Linked DNA regions of Homo sapiens: region 1 is linked to region 2. Evidence: promoter capture Hi-C in 16 types of primary human blood cells and fetal thymus (Javierre and others, 2016). All regions are on one chromosome and are shown on one strand. The core of a region is centred on a gene start or on the middle of the fragment in contact, and the rest is flanking DNA. Distances in the headings are between cores, read along the strand shown.

The links. The method cuts DNA at HindIII sites, captures the fragments that hold promoters and counts their contacts. A CHiCAGO score of 5 or more calls a contact.
Region 1: a fragment that was not itself captured here is called in contact with the fragment with the promoter of SLC1A3 in region 2 in 1 of 17 cell types (M0 macrophages); the score reaches 5.2 in M0 macrophages.

Annotation. Positions count from the first base shown.
Region 1 is chr5:36,261,519-36,267,697 of GRCh38, forward strand. It overlaps RANBP3L (RAN binding protein 3 like), which reads right to left. Exons shown (of 14, transcript NM_145000.5): 5 at 3,931-4,002; 6 at 3,441-3,580; 7 at 421-524. The region is part of intron 1 of LOC124900962 (a long non-coding RNA gene); the gene reads left to right. Among named protein-coding and RNA genes, the nearest start is that of NADK2, 23 kb to the left of the region's middle. The HindIII fragment of the contact is 4,510 bases long and covers 1,786-6,179 here.
Region 2 is chr5:36,603,511-36,609,057 of GRCh38, forward strand. It overlaps SLC1A3 (solute carrier family 1 member 3), which reads left to right and starts at 3,096. Exons shown (of 10, transcript NM_004172.5): 1 at 3,096-3,225; 2 at 4,819-5,094. The coding sequence starts at 4,914. RefSeq lists an enhancer at 3,203-3,302. The HindIII fragment of the contact is 8,493 bases long and covers 1,164-5,547 here.

The DNA of each region.
Region 1 (6,179 bases), core at 2,791-5,290, 340 kb before region 2:
TAATACTAATAAATATTGCAGATTTATACTGCTTTCCTTGTTGCTTATCTAACCTATGCCAATAAATAATGTATAATGCCAAAATAAAAGAAAAAAATGCTAGAGAGAGAGGAAGAGAGCCTAATCTACTAATCAGATAATTTATGTCCAACTAAATAAAAGTTTAGCCATACATTTTCAAAAAGTTCTCACCCAAGTTAATGAAACAATGAAGACAATCCAGTATTAATATGATAATATTTAAGAATCGAAATATTTTTAAAAACATTTTAAACTTGTGTTTCCTATAAAATCTCCTTTCAAATGGGAATCTTGGCAATTTATCCGTACAAGGTCAGAAAATTATTTTCCATGAATGGTTATAATAATGAAAGAATGCAAGAATGAAAGGACAACGCTTCTATTTTCTCATTAACTTACCCTACTGATGTTGCACCTAAAAAGTCCTGGTTAGTAGACAGCTGGACTGAAATTCTAGCCCTTGATAAATTTTCACTTAACAAATAGGAATTTCCCTCAGAAATCTGAAAGTAAAGAAATCCATCAAAAAGTTTATAAAGACTACCTTACTATAGGACCATCAGACAAGGAAACAATAGTTATAGTTAAATATATTGAAAGCTTACTATGTTTAAGTACTGCCTTAAGCATTTTATGTACGATCTCATTTACTCCTTACAACTCTAACACTTTGTAATTCTATTGTCCACATTTTACAGGTGAGTAAACTGACACAAAAAACTTAAATAATTTGCCCAGGTCACATACAGTGGCGATCTGTCTAATACCGGAATATCATAATATTCAGAAATCCCACCATGTTTTGTTTATTTTTGCCATTTTAGTCAAATTGGGTTAATTCTCATTTCTGGATTAGTAAAGCTCTTTTCAGGACTATTTAATCCTGGGAAACACCCTAAGAATGTCACCATCCTAGTCACCCAATGTGAGAGAAAACCCCACTCATCTATTTATCTTGAAATTTTCAACTAGTAACTTATCCAGTTACTTTGCCTTATGTACATATGTGTATGCACAATACCTGAATTAATATATAAATGTAAGAGTGAGGAAATTTAGAATTGGAAGGAACCCTATACATTATCTGATCTAGTATTTACAATTCCTTCCTCGACCAGGAATTTGCAAAGATGTTTCAGGGCGTTTGTGTCTTTTAAAGCCAGATGGGTTATGTTTCCACTTAAATTTTTATTTCAATCAATAAAAATAATTTTGAGTACTTTTTCTTTTTTAACAAGAGTTTGACAACTGACAAATATGTATCAAGAGAGCATGTGCCATGGTTGGCAAAGATCGAAGTACATGCTCATTACCTAGTCATTCAGATAATGTATCTCTCAGCCAAAATGGTAGTTTTCACTCCTATGTTGGTTAAAATAGTTATTTAGGCATATATTGTTTAATCTATACATAGTAAGTAACCATTGATTAATGATAGGATGAAAATAATTTATCTGATTTTGATATACAAGATAATAAGAAATATAAAGATAATGGTTCTACAAAATCCACCTAGAGATAGTTTTCACAAAATCTTTAAATTACATTCATTTGGTCAAAATTCTTACATAGGATCTTATATACAGTGTGTCTCTGGATCTTCAAAGATCAATAAATGGAAAATTTAATGATGGGCATTAAATTTTCTTTTTAATGATGGGCATATACAGTAGGGCTTTTCAATAACTGGAAATAAGGTTTATTCCCTAGACCTTATAATTTATTCAAAAATAAATATAAACAATAGCTTGAAATTTTCTCTTAAGCTTGGATCATTTAAGAAGAAAATGGAAGAAATATATTAATAAATTTTATTTTAAAATATGCAATGCAATATTTACAAAAATTCTGCCAAGAAAGAAATATTGATGTATTTTTGATGTCATAACATGTAATTAAAATCTTGCTCTATATTTATAGTGCATGCCATTTTAAAATCAAATGCAATATAACTTTTTAGAAATTAGTCAACATATTATACTTTCTATTACATAATTTAAAACAAGTTAAACACCATGCATCACTTCTTTTTTCTCTTTTCTTTTTTGAGACAGTCTGGCTCTGTCACCAGGCTGGTACCATCTCGGTTCACTGCAACCTCCACTTCCCGGGTTCAAGCTAGGACTACAGGCACATGCCACCATGCCCAGCTAATTTTTGTATTTTTTGTAAAGACAGTGTTTTACTATATTGCCTAGGCTTGTCTGGAACGTTTTAGCTCAAGAGATCCACTCATCTCGGCCTCCCGAAGTGCTAGGATTAAAAGAGTGAGCCACCACGCCTGGCCACTTCACTTCTTAAATAAAAGTAAGGAATTATGTAACATGGTGATAATTATTACATTATATTTAAGTGAAAACAATAATATACTTATCTAAAATTGAAGACATGTTTTACTTAAAAATTACTTATATAGCATGCATAAATGATGAAATGATTTTTTAAATTCATAATGGATCTCTCCAAATAATATCTTACAAAGTAAAGAGTTTAGGAATATAAAAATATTGGAAAGTGCTGATCAAGTTCAAGTCCCTTACTTTGCTGATATAAAAAGATGTTGAATGGGTGCTTTGTTTAGATAAACAAAGATAGCAGCAGAGGCAAGATTAGTACCAATCTGGTATTTTTTTACACTTCCGTGTTTCTGTCCTTATGTTCACTAAGGGAAAACAAAGCGAAACTATGTGACCAATCCTCAGTAGTTCAGCTGGAAACAAATGGCTAAGATGGAATAACTCTCAAATTCCAACCTACCTATCTTGAGTCCTATTCCTCCTGTGTCTGCTTCTGCTGGAAGACAGGTAGCACTACAGCAATTGAATATATCCCCAAACCCATATCTGCACGGCTTGTGTAAGTTACTGTCTGTTTAGAAAGGCCTACAAAGAGTGATTCAGACACTACATAGTTGGAAGTTAGAATTCTTATCTGTCTCTAGAGGCTTCCCAAACCCTCCCAACTACACTGTATAGGGAGTTCTCTGCTCCTGTTATACTGGAATTTGGCTCTGAAATGAACCTCTGGTATGACCTAAACTGGCAACGATACACTGTGATGTTGACCAGTTGGCGATGTAGAGAAAATCCCTGCCTCTTTTTTGACTACTGACTCTGGCCCCTGGCTCCCTCATTGCTGTCCCCATTCTCACACAGGGTCATTGCTCTGGCACAAGACCCCCAGATTTCCACTACCCAGTACTCAACTTTACAACTTTAGAGAGACCACAGATTTGTGAGACTACAACTCTCCAATGTCAGAGTACAACTTTGAAAAGTTTACCAAGGGCTTTATGCTATCTAGCCCAACAACAAAACAAAGCTCAGACAACTCCTATTTCTGGATATGGGGGCCCCAAACAACCTGCAAAAAGAAAGATGAGGGATTGAGGTCAGTTCCGTTATCCTGGGCTTTCTCACCTTATTATTTGTTTTTTCTTTAGTCTTGCAAGATTCCAGTGCCTTGTGTCCAAATGTTTTTCTTACTTTTGCACAACTTCGAGCTTGAGGTAGCTGCAAAATAGCAGGTCTAATAACATGTTTAGAATGTTTCACAGGACCTTAAAAGAATAGAATTAAAGGATAAATATATGTTTACTGAAATATTCCTTTACTCCCTATTTTTAATTAATATAATTCTTATTTTCTAAAGTCATGTTTAAATGAGGGACTAGCGTTAATTAATCCAAGTCAAAATAACCATTGAGTTCCCCAACATTCACACCCTGCCTAGCTTTTGCCCAATAACTATTCATTTTGATCATGAAACCTGGCTTACTTGCATTATTTCTTCATGTTTTGTCACTCTGACCTACCTCCATGCCCCCAACACACGCACACATATAGGGAGATGAAAATATAGGTGGTAAAATATACAATTTCTGAGGTTCTTGAAATAGAAGCTACATACCTTGTTCAGCACTCTTTATATCAACACTACTTTGCACAAGAGCTGATGTCATAAAAACATTGTTTTTCCTCACTGTAAGAAAAAATATTTAAATTTTTTTAAATACAGAAGAGTGTCAGATTCTACACTATTTGGGGCTTAACAATCCCATTCCGAACTCACCAGCAGATGTCGCAATTGGCACTAACAGAGTAGTAGGTAGTGCCCTCTGGAGCACTGGCTCTGCGAAAAATGGGATTGCCAGCCAGGCGCGGTGGCTCGCGCCTGTAATCCTAGCACTTTGGGAGGCCAAGGCGGGTGGATCACCTGAGGTCAGGAGTTCGAGACCAGCCTGGCCAACATGGCGAAACCCCGTCTCTACTAAAAATACAAAAAATAATGAGCCGGGCGTGGTGGCAGGTGCCTGTAATCCCAGCTACTCGGGAGGCTGAGGAAGGAGAATCTCTTGAACCCAGGAGGTGGAGGTTGCAGTGAGCTGAAATCGCACCACTGCACTCCAGCCTGTGTGACAGGAGCGAGACTCCATTTCAAAAAAAAAAAAAAAAAAAAAAAGATATTGCCGGATGCGTCCTGCTACATAGTTCTGTTTACTTTCAGATATCTAAGTGAAAATTAGGTGACTAGCAGAAAAGGCAGTCTTTTTTTTGAATCTTTAAATAGTGCACTGTCAGAAATTCTACAGACTACAAAATCTGAATTGGTAATGAACCCTCCGGCATTAATATATAGCTCTTATAGAATATTATAAAACTGTTAGCAAAGTCTGCCCACACTCCCTGACTTTTTAATGAGTATACCTGAAGAAAGAAGTAAAGATGACAAATCTGCTAAGTTATTTTTCTACAAACATGTTGGTGGGGTAAGACTGTGGTGGTGGCTCCGAGTATAGAATTTCTATACATTTCAAAGGGATCTCCTCTTCATTGCAAATTGCAGAAACAGCAACCTTTGGCATTTAATGAAAATGAGAAAAGAATAATTGCTTCTTCAAAGTATTCTTTAAGGTGTTATAAATGTTGGGGTAGAATCCCTTCTCTACTTCAGAGTTCAATTTAATGTTTTTTATGATCTTTATTATTGAACATCAACAAAAAAAGAGCCATATTTTTCTCCTGCTGAACACCACTAACATTCTGCACAACATAAAACAGAATGATAATCTTTCTTTTTGTGTGAGTGTCCAGTAAAAAATGAATTAAAGCACGTGCATAGATAACTTAAAGTCGTTCCTTTGTTTTATGTATAAATACAATAAAACAGAACACCTTTGCCTCTGGGATTAGGATCTCTATTTCTATGTCTCTCTCACTTTTTTTTTTTTTCTTTGAGATTGAGTCTCTCTCTGTCATCCAAGCTGGAGTGCAGTGGCATGACCTTGGCTCACTGCAACCTCTGCCTCCTGGGTTCAAGCGATTCTCTTGCCTCAGCGCCCCAAGTAGCTGGAACTACAGGCGTGCAACACCATGCCCGGCTAATTTTTGTATTTTTAGCAGAGACCAGGTTTCACCATGTTTGCCACGCTGGTTTCGAACTCCTGGCCTGCAGAGATCTGCCTGCCTTGGCCTCTCAAAGTGCTGATATTACAGGCATGAGCCAACACGCCCAGCCAGGATCTCTGTTTCTCTTAATGTCTGAGCTTGTCAGTCAGGTTAGAAGGACTAGAGACACTAAAAGGTGTCTCTTCTGCATCTGAAAGTTACTTGATATACTGTTGCTCAGTCATGCCTGCAATTATTAATAAGAATACAGATTTATTCATTGAAAAACTCTGTTGTTCAGGCCAGGCATGGTGGCTCACGACTGTAATCCCAGCACTTTGGGAGGCCGAGGTGGGCGGATCACGAGGTCAAGAGATCAAAACCATCCTGGCCGAAATGGTGAAACCCCATCTCTACTAAAAATACAAAAATTAGCTGGGCATGGGTGGTGTGCGCCTGTAGTCCCAGCTACTTGGAAGGCTGAGGCAGGAGAGTCACTTAAACCCGGGAGGCAGAGGTTGCAGTAAGCTGAGATCACGCCATTGCACTCTAGCCTGGGCGACAGAGCCAGACTCCGTCTCAAAAAAAAAAAAAAGAAAGAAAGAAAGAAAAAACTCTGTAGTTCCTGGGTAGAGGGGGATCAATTCAAATGAAGTGAGTAGTTTGTAATTTTTCTTTCTTAGTGGCAAACTTAACTTGGAAAAGGCAATTGATTGTTTAGTAGAAATAAAAACATGAGAATAGAGATCATTTTAATGTGGAGAAAATGCC
Region 2 (5,547 bases), core at 1,846-4,345:
GTTGGATGTTTTTAGGTTTCATATGACTATAACTTTAAAATAAAACCTAGTTATTTAAAAATTCAACTAACCAGACTTCACCACAGGTTTTTTTGTTGTTCTGCTTTTTACATTCATATTTAAGAAGAAAAAAAAATCAAAACAAAATGGAAGACAACTACCACAAGTTCTTCTACACCTACTGCCTCTAACACATCCACTGTTACACTCTGGGGTTAAGTCAGGTCCTGTTCATTGTCTTAGCATTCTACAATTTCCAAATTCTAGGAGGAGAATTGACATTCATGATGATCCTAAAATGCAAGCTATTTAAACAAGGAATGATTTTAAAACCATCATTAAATTAAAAATCAACTTGGAAAATATTGAAAAAAGATTAAAAGGTTTTCTAATCCATTTTGTTGCTCAAAAAAAAATCCAATTAACCAAAATTTCCTAATTTTGAATGGTGAAGTTTGACTGGCCTGTACCATGCTAAGATCAGCACGTGCTTATTACCGTAATCTCTTGTTCTTCAAACCAATAAATGCTCCCTTTAAGGACAGGTTGGATTTGGTTATTTCTTGTTATACTGACATTTTTTCCCAAAGAAAGAATTTACTGATAACATACTTCATCACACAATGTTCACAGAAAGATCTTGACAGATTTTTTCAGCAGGAACAGCATTTGCTGCTGGTGTTTGTGTTTTTTTCATTTGATAATACTAACATTAATATGATCCCCCAGCTTCTGTGTCTCCCACCCTGAGTAGCTTTAAATGAAATACAGCATACAGAGACTTGTTCATAATTTCTTGATCTTTCATTTATTTAGTGTTTCTAGAAGGAAAAAAAAAGATGTTTTAAAGCTCAAGGGACTTAACTATAAAGTAGAGGGGAAAAGGTAGAAATACGCGTTGAGGAAACCCAGGAGGCCCCCAGGCATGACTTTTGCTATAGCTTTCCAGAAAGAGAAAGTGGTGCTTAAAGAAGTAATTCCCAATGTTTCCCTCCAGACTAAAATTGGATGAACTCTGAACTGAGACTCTTTGCATCTCATTTTCTCATTAGGTTTTATTACAGCCAACAAAACTTTCAGTGGTGAATTACTTCCCTTCTCAACAGAATACCAGACTCCCATAATGTCTACACAAACTGAAATAATGAAATGGTTTTTAACCAAGCTTTAGGGATTAGAGAGGAAAAAAAAAGTGAAAAAGAAAGGGCACCAGGGTCTTCCCATCTCTATGCTAACCAAAGTGTGGTTTTCCAGCCCTTTTTCTTGCCTATTAACAAAAATAAAAACAAAAAATGGAAATGCCACTGGGCTTGAAACCCCATTTAAAATCAGATTTCTCTTTCGAGTTCCCTTGCAATACAAGTCAAAGTCATTTCCACCAAAAAAAAAAAGCGGTGGGGGGGGGGGGTGTGCAAATTAATCCTAAACTCATGGCTCAGATAGGACCTGGTATAGTAAATAAATGCTTTTAAAAGTAGTCATGGCATTGAGAAATGGCTCCATGCACCTAAACCAGAGGCACCAATGTAAAAACTAGTAATTGTGTTTTAACACAAAAGATTGAAAAGCGTTTTGTTTCACATCCTAATATTATTCCACCCACTTAAAAAGAGTTACTTAATATTGACTCTGTATTAGGTATAAGACAAGTTCTTGCCCTCAAAGAACTTATAATTTAGTTGAGAAACCAAAACTTAACATGAGCTTAAAAAGAAGGATGCAGTACAAAACATGGTATAATTAAGTGCTAAACAATGTAGTATAGATGCTCAGTGACCTAGGAGATCAGAGGAAGGGAAGGGTCACTGAGGGCTGGGAATGTCAAAAGCATGTACTTTCAGTAAGTTCTTAAAATGATAGCATGTTAGAAAGCTGTTATAATTGCTGCTGATTTGTAATTTTAAAGCATTGACATGATTCACCATTGCTTTCCAACCAGTAGCTGTTTAAAAGGACATACAGTTGAGGGTGAAAGGAGATATTTCTTTATGATCTCCAGAGATTTGTATTGAGGGGAAAAAAGACATACTTTCTTGTTGAATAATAGACCAAGAATTGAGCATATTTTGCATGGGGAATATTAAATTCAGTGAACAAGAATCCAAACCTCAGGCTGTGATTCTGGTATAAATTTTTGTTTCTAATGAACCATTTTCTTCCTTCTAAAGAAGATTTAAGTTTTGGGAATAAGTCACCTCAAAAAAATTTTTTTTTATTTTCTAATATCTATTTTCACAATTTATTTTTCTTTTAAGAAAAGTGGACTAGAAGCTCAAGTTACCTTCTCAAGGCAATGAGAATTTTTTAGCTCTAAAAAAGTTGTGTGTGGTAGGGAGAACATTTAGCATCCTTTAAAATGGAGACATCTGAACAGCAACCTATCTTTTGAATCACCAAATCTCAAGTGTACTTTGCACTCTTGGTCTTAAAATGCTTTTCATTTTCTAGTTTGGCAAAAATTCCAGTCTCTTTACATTTGCTACCTTTTCCGTCTTTGCAACACAGGCAGTGTGAGCTAAATTAGGTTTGTTAAAATGAAGTTTTGAAGTTTCAACTGCTGAAATAGAGGCATGTCCCTAACTTTAGACAAATTTAGAGAATCGTAGTAAGCATTATTTTTTTTCTACATACTTGTCTGCATTCAGTGTCTTCCCAAGAAACGTCAGTTAATTCCCCGATTCGAAAAAGGAACTTTCTCGTAACAGTTGTACAACCAGGCTAAAGAGCACACCCTCGTCTTCCCTGAAAGGGAGGAAACATGCAATAATGTGAGGTAATTAAATTTAGCCTTAGAAAAGTCTTTGAAACGTTCTAATCAAGACTTTCAGCTTTCCGATTGTGTGCGCTTTATTTTTCAATTCTTCCTAGTCCCGGTTTTGCATTTCTAATGACAGTGAACTGACAAAGCGTGAAAGTGGTCTAAGGAGCAAAACAAAGCCAGCAAGCCTGCTTCTGGTGTGCCAAGATTAATCAATATTCCAGAAACCTCGGGGTTTCCCCCTCCTCCCTGTGCGGTTTCCATTCCCCACTCCTCCTTTCCCGGGCACAGACTCCTCCCCTTTTCTTAAGTTGCCCTGATAGTAACTTGCAGTTTCAGAGCACATGCACACTGTCAGGGCTAGCCTGCCTGCTTACGCGCGCTGCGGATTGTTGCTCCGTTGTACCTGCTGGGGAATTCACCTCGTTACTGCTTGATATCTTCCACCCCTTACAAAATCAGAAAAGGTAAGTGTCACATTCTGTGTTCCTGCTGGGTTTAATTTCTCCTTTCACTTCTCTGCCGATGTATTTTGCCTTCCAAGCAGAGGAGTAGCCTGAATCAAGGCTAGCCATTTTGGTAGATAAAGTCCTTGTTAGTCATCTCACGTCGTGAGAGTGTGGTGTCTGTTTATGCCGGGTCCGCTGTTAATTCGGAGTTGAGTCATTCGGGGTGGATTGGGGGCAGATTGTGGCGCGAGATCTAGAAAAGGATCAAGGTTGAGCGGATCTGCTTAAAAGTGACTGGTAAGAGGAATCAGAGCTATTAGTTTAAAAAAAAAAAAAATCTGGTCTCTCCTATTTCCCGGTCTTCACTTCTCCCTAAGCATTTAATCCAGTGTGAAGTCTTAAACAAATTAGAAGTCTTAGTATCACTGACCCCAACTTGCAATTTTATTTAAAAGGCAAACTGTTAAGACAAGTCTTTTTTTTTCCTGCACTGGGATTGCGAGAAGTCATTTGCGAGGAGTCCTTTGGTTTCCAGTTACCTCCCCCACAGGCGCACACGCTGGCTGCTTGCGTTGGCAGCGACACACATCCATGGTACGGCTGGTTTTCACTCGGATTGATTATGGGAAGGGCTATGGATTAGAGCTCCTGTAAAGCACCAGGAGGAATCCCTTGATTTTTCAGAACAGCTGATTTCCACCAGGAAAGAGATTTACTGAAATGTAGTTAAATAGCGTGAGTGCTTTAAAGAAACCAGAAACCACAAGCTGTAATGTTTGGAATGAAAATTGGTTTCATCTCATCTGTTCTAGAAATCCTAAATTTTAAAACGCTAAAAAGTCAGCGATAGTTTCCTCGGAAGATTCCAGCATGTGTGTCACAAAGAAAAACACTACTTCATACTTCTACTTGTGATAAACGAAGCTGAATTGTGATTTCAGATGATTTATAGATGTGCCCAGAGCACTTTGCTTATTTCATGGAAAAAAAATGAAAAAATTACCCTGTAAAATAGTCACATGTATTTCCCATGTACTGTGGGCACTTGTGTTCTTTTTATGACCATATTTACTAGTAGATATTATTATATTTTTTTCTTAATGAAGAAAATAGCTGGTTACTTTACTGCATGTAACAGAGACAACTCCCACCTATCAGTATCTTAATTATTTTTATTGACCTGGTTATGCTTTCAACCATGTATACAGCATAATTTGTCAAGTAATGATTGAATACTTTCTGTGCATTCAGTTCAATTGGACATTTACTGATTGTGTACGTTGTGCAAGGCATCAGCTGGGTTCTGCGGGGGAGGGTGGGAATAGGGGTTCTCAGTCAGATCTAGCTCTGAAGAACCCTTTTATAGCCTCATTGGAAGGGGAAGGACGGATTTTTAAAAAGAAAATAGAATATATTCCGAATTTATGCACATTTCTCACACGTGGTCCACTAAAATATGCACACTGCAACCTTGAGGTCTGGTATTGTGGCTCTCCAGTCCTTGATTCCTGCTGAGATTATGCAATTTGCCAAGAGCTTGCCTGGTGTGGAGCAGCACTGATTTCTCACCCCTGGAGGCTATAACTCATGTCTCTTTTTCTCCCATTCTAGTTGTGTTTTCTAATACCAAAGAGGAGGTTTGGCTTTCTGTGGGTGATTCCCAGACACTGAAGTGCAAAGAAGAGACCCTCCTAGAAAAGTAAAATATGACTAAAAGCAATGGAGAAGAGCCCAAGATGGGGGGCAGGATGGAGAGATTCCAGCAGGGAGTCCGTAAACGCACACTTTTGGCCAAGAAGAAAGTGCAGAACATTACAAAGGAGGATGTTAAAAGTTACCTGTTTCGGAATGCTTTTGTGCTGCTCACAGTCACCGCTGTCATTGTGGGTGAGTCATTTGATTAAAAACAAAAAAACCTGTATCTTGTTTCTCTGGGGCATCTGGCTGCCCGGGGAATATTATCAGATGAACTAGTTGTAGGTATCAAAATGGTAGCCTAGGCTTTCCTCTGAACTTGATGATTTTTCTCCATAAAAATGACTGTTTTGGCTTGTTTGGAGCAATATATAGTAAACACATCATTAGGCATCATTAGGCATTATGCAAATCAATTGTGTGAGGAAGAAAAATAAATAAAATATTTTCCCATTTCATGTAAGGATAAGGAAGTGATCATTTAATCATTAGGCATGACAAAGCAAGCATGCTAGATTTGGCCAAAATGTAATTATATACAATGTCAGTTGCACTTAAAACTAATTTATACAATTAGTACACCTAAAATGACATGTTGGTTCCAAATAGTAATTATATTCTAACTGGTGCTGACTTGAAGCTGAG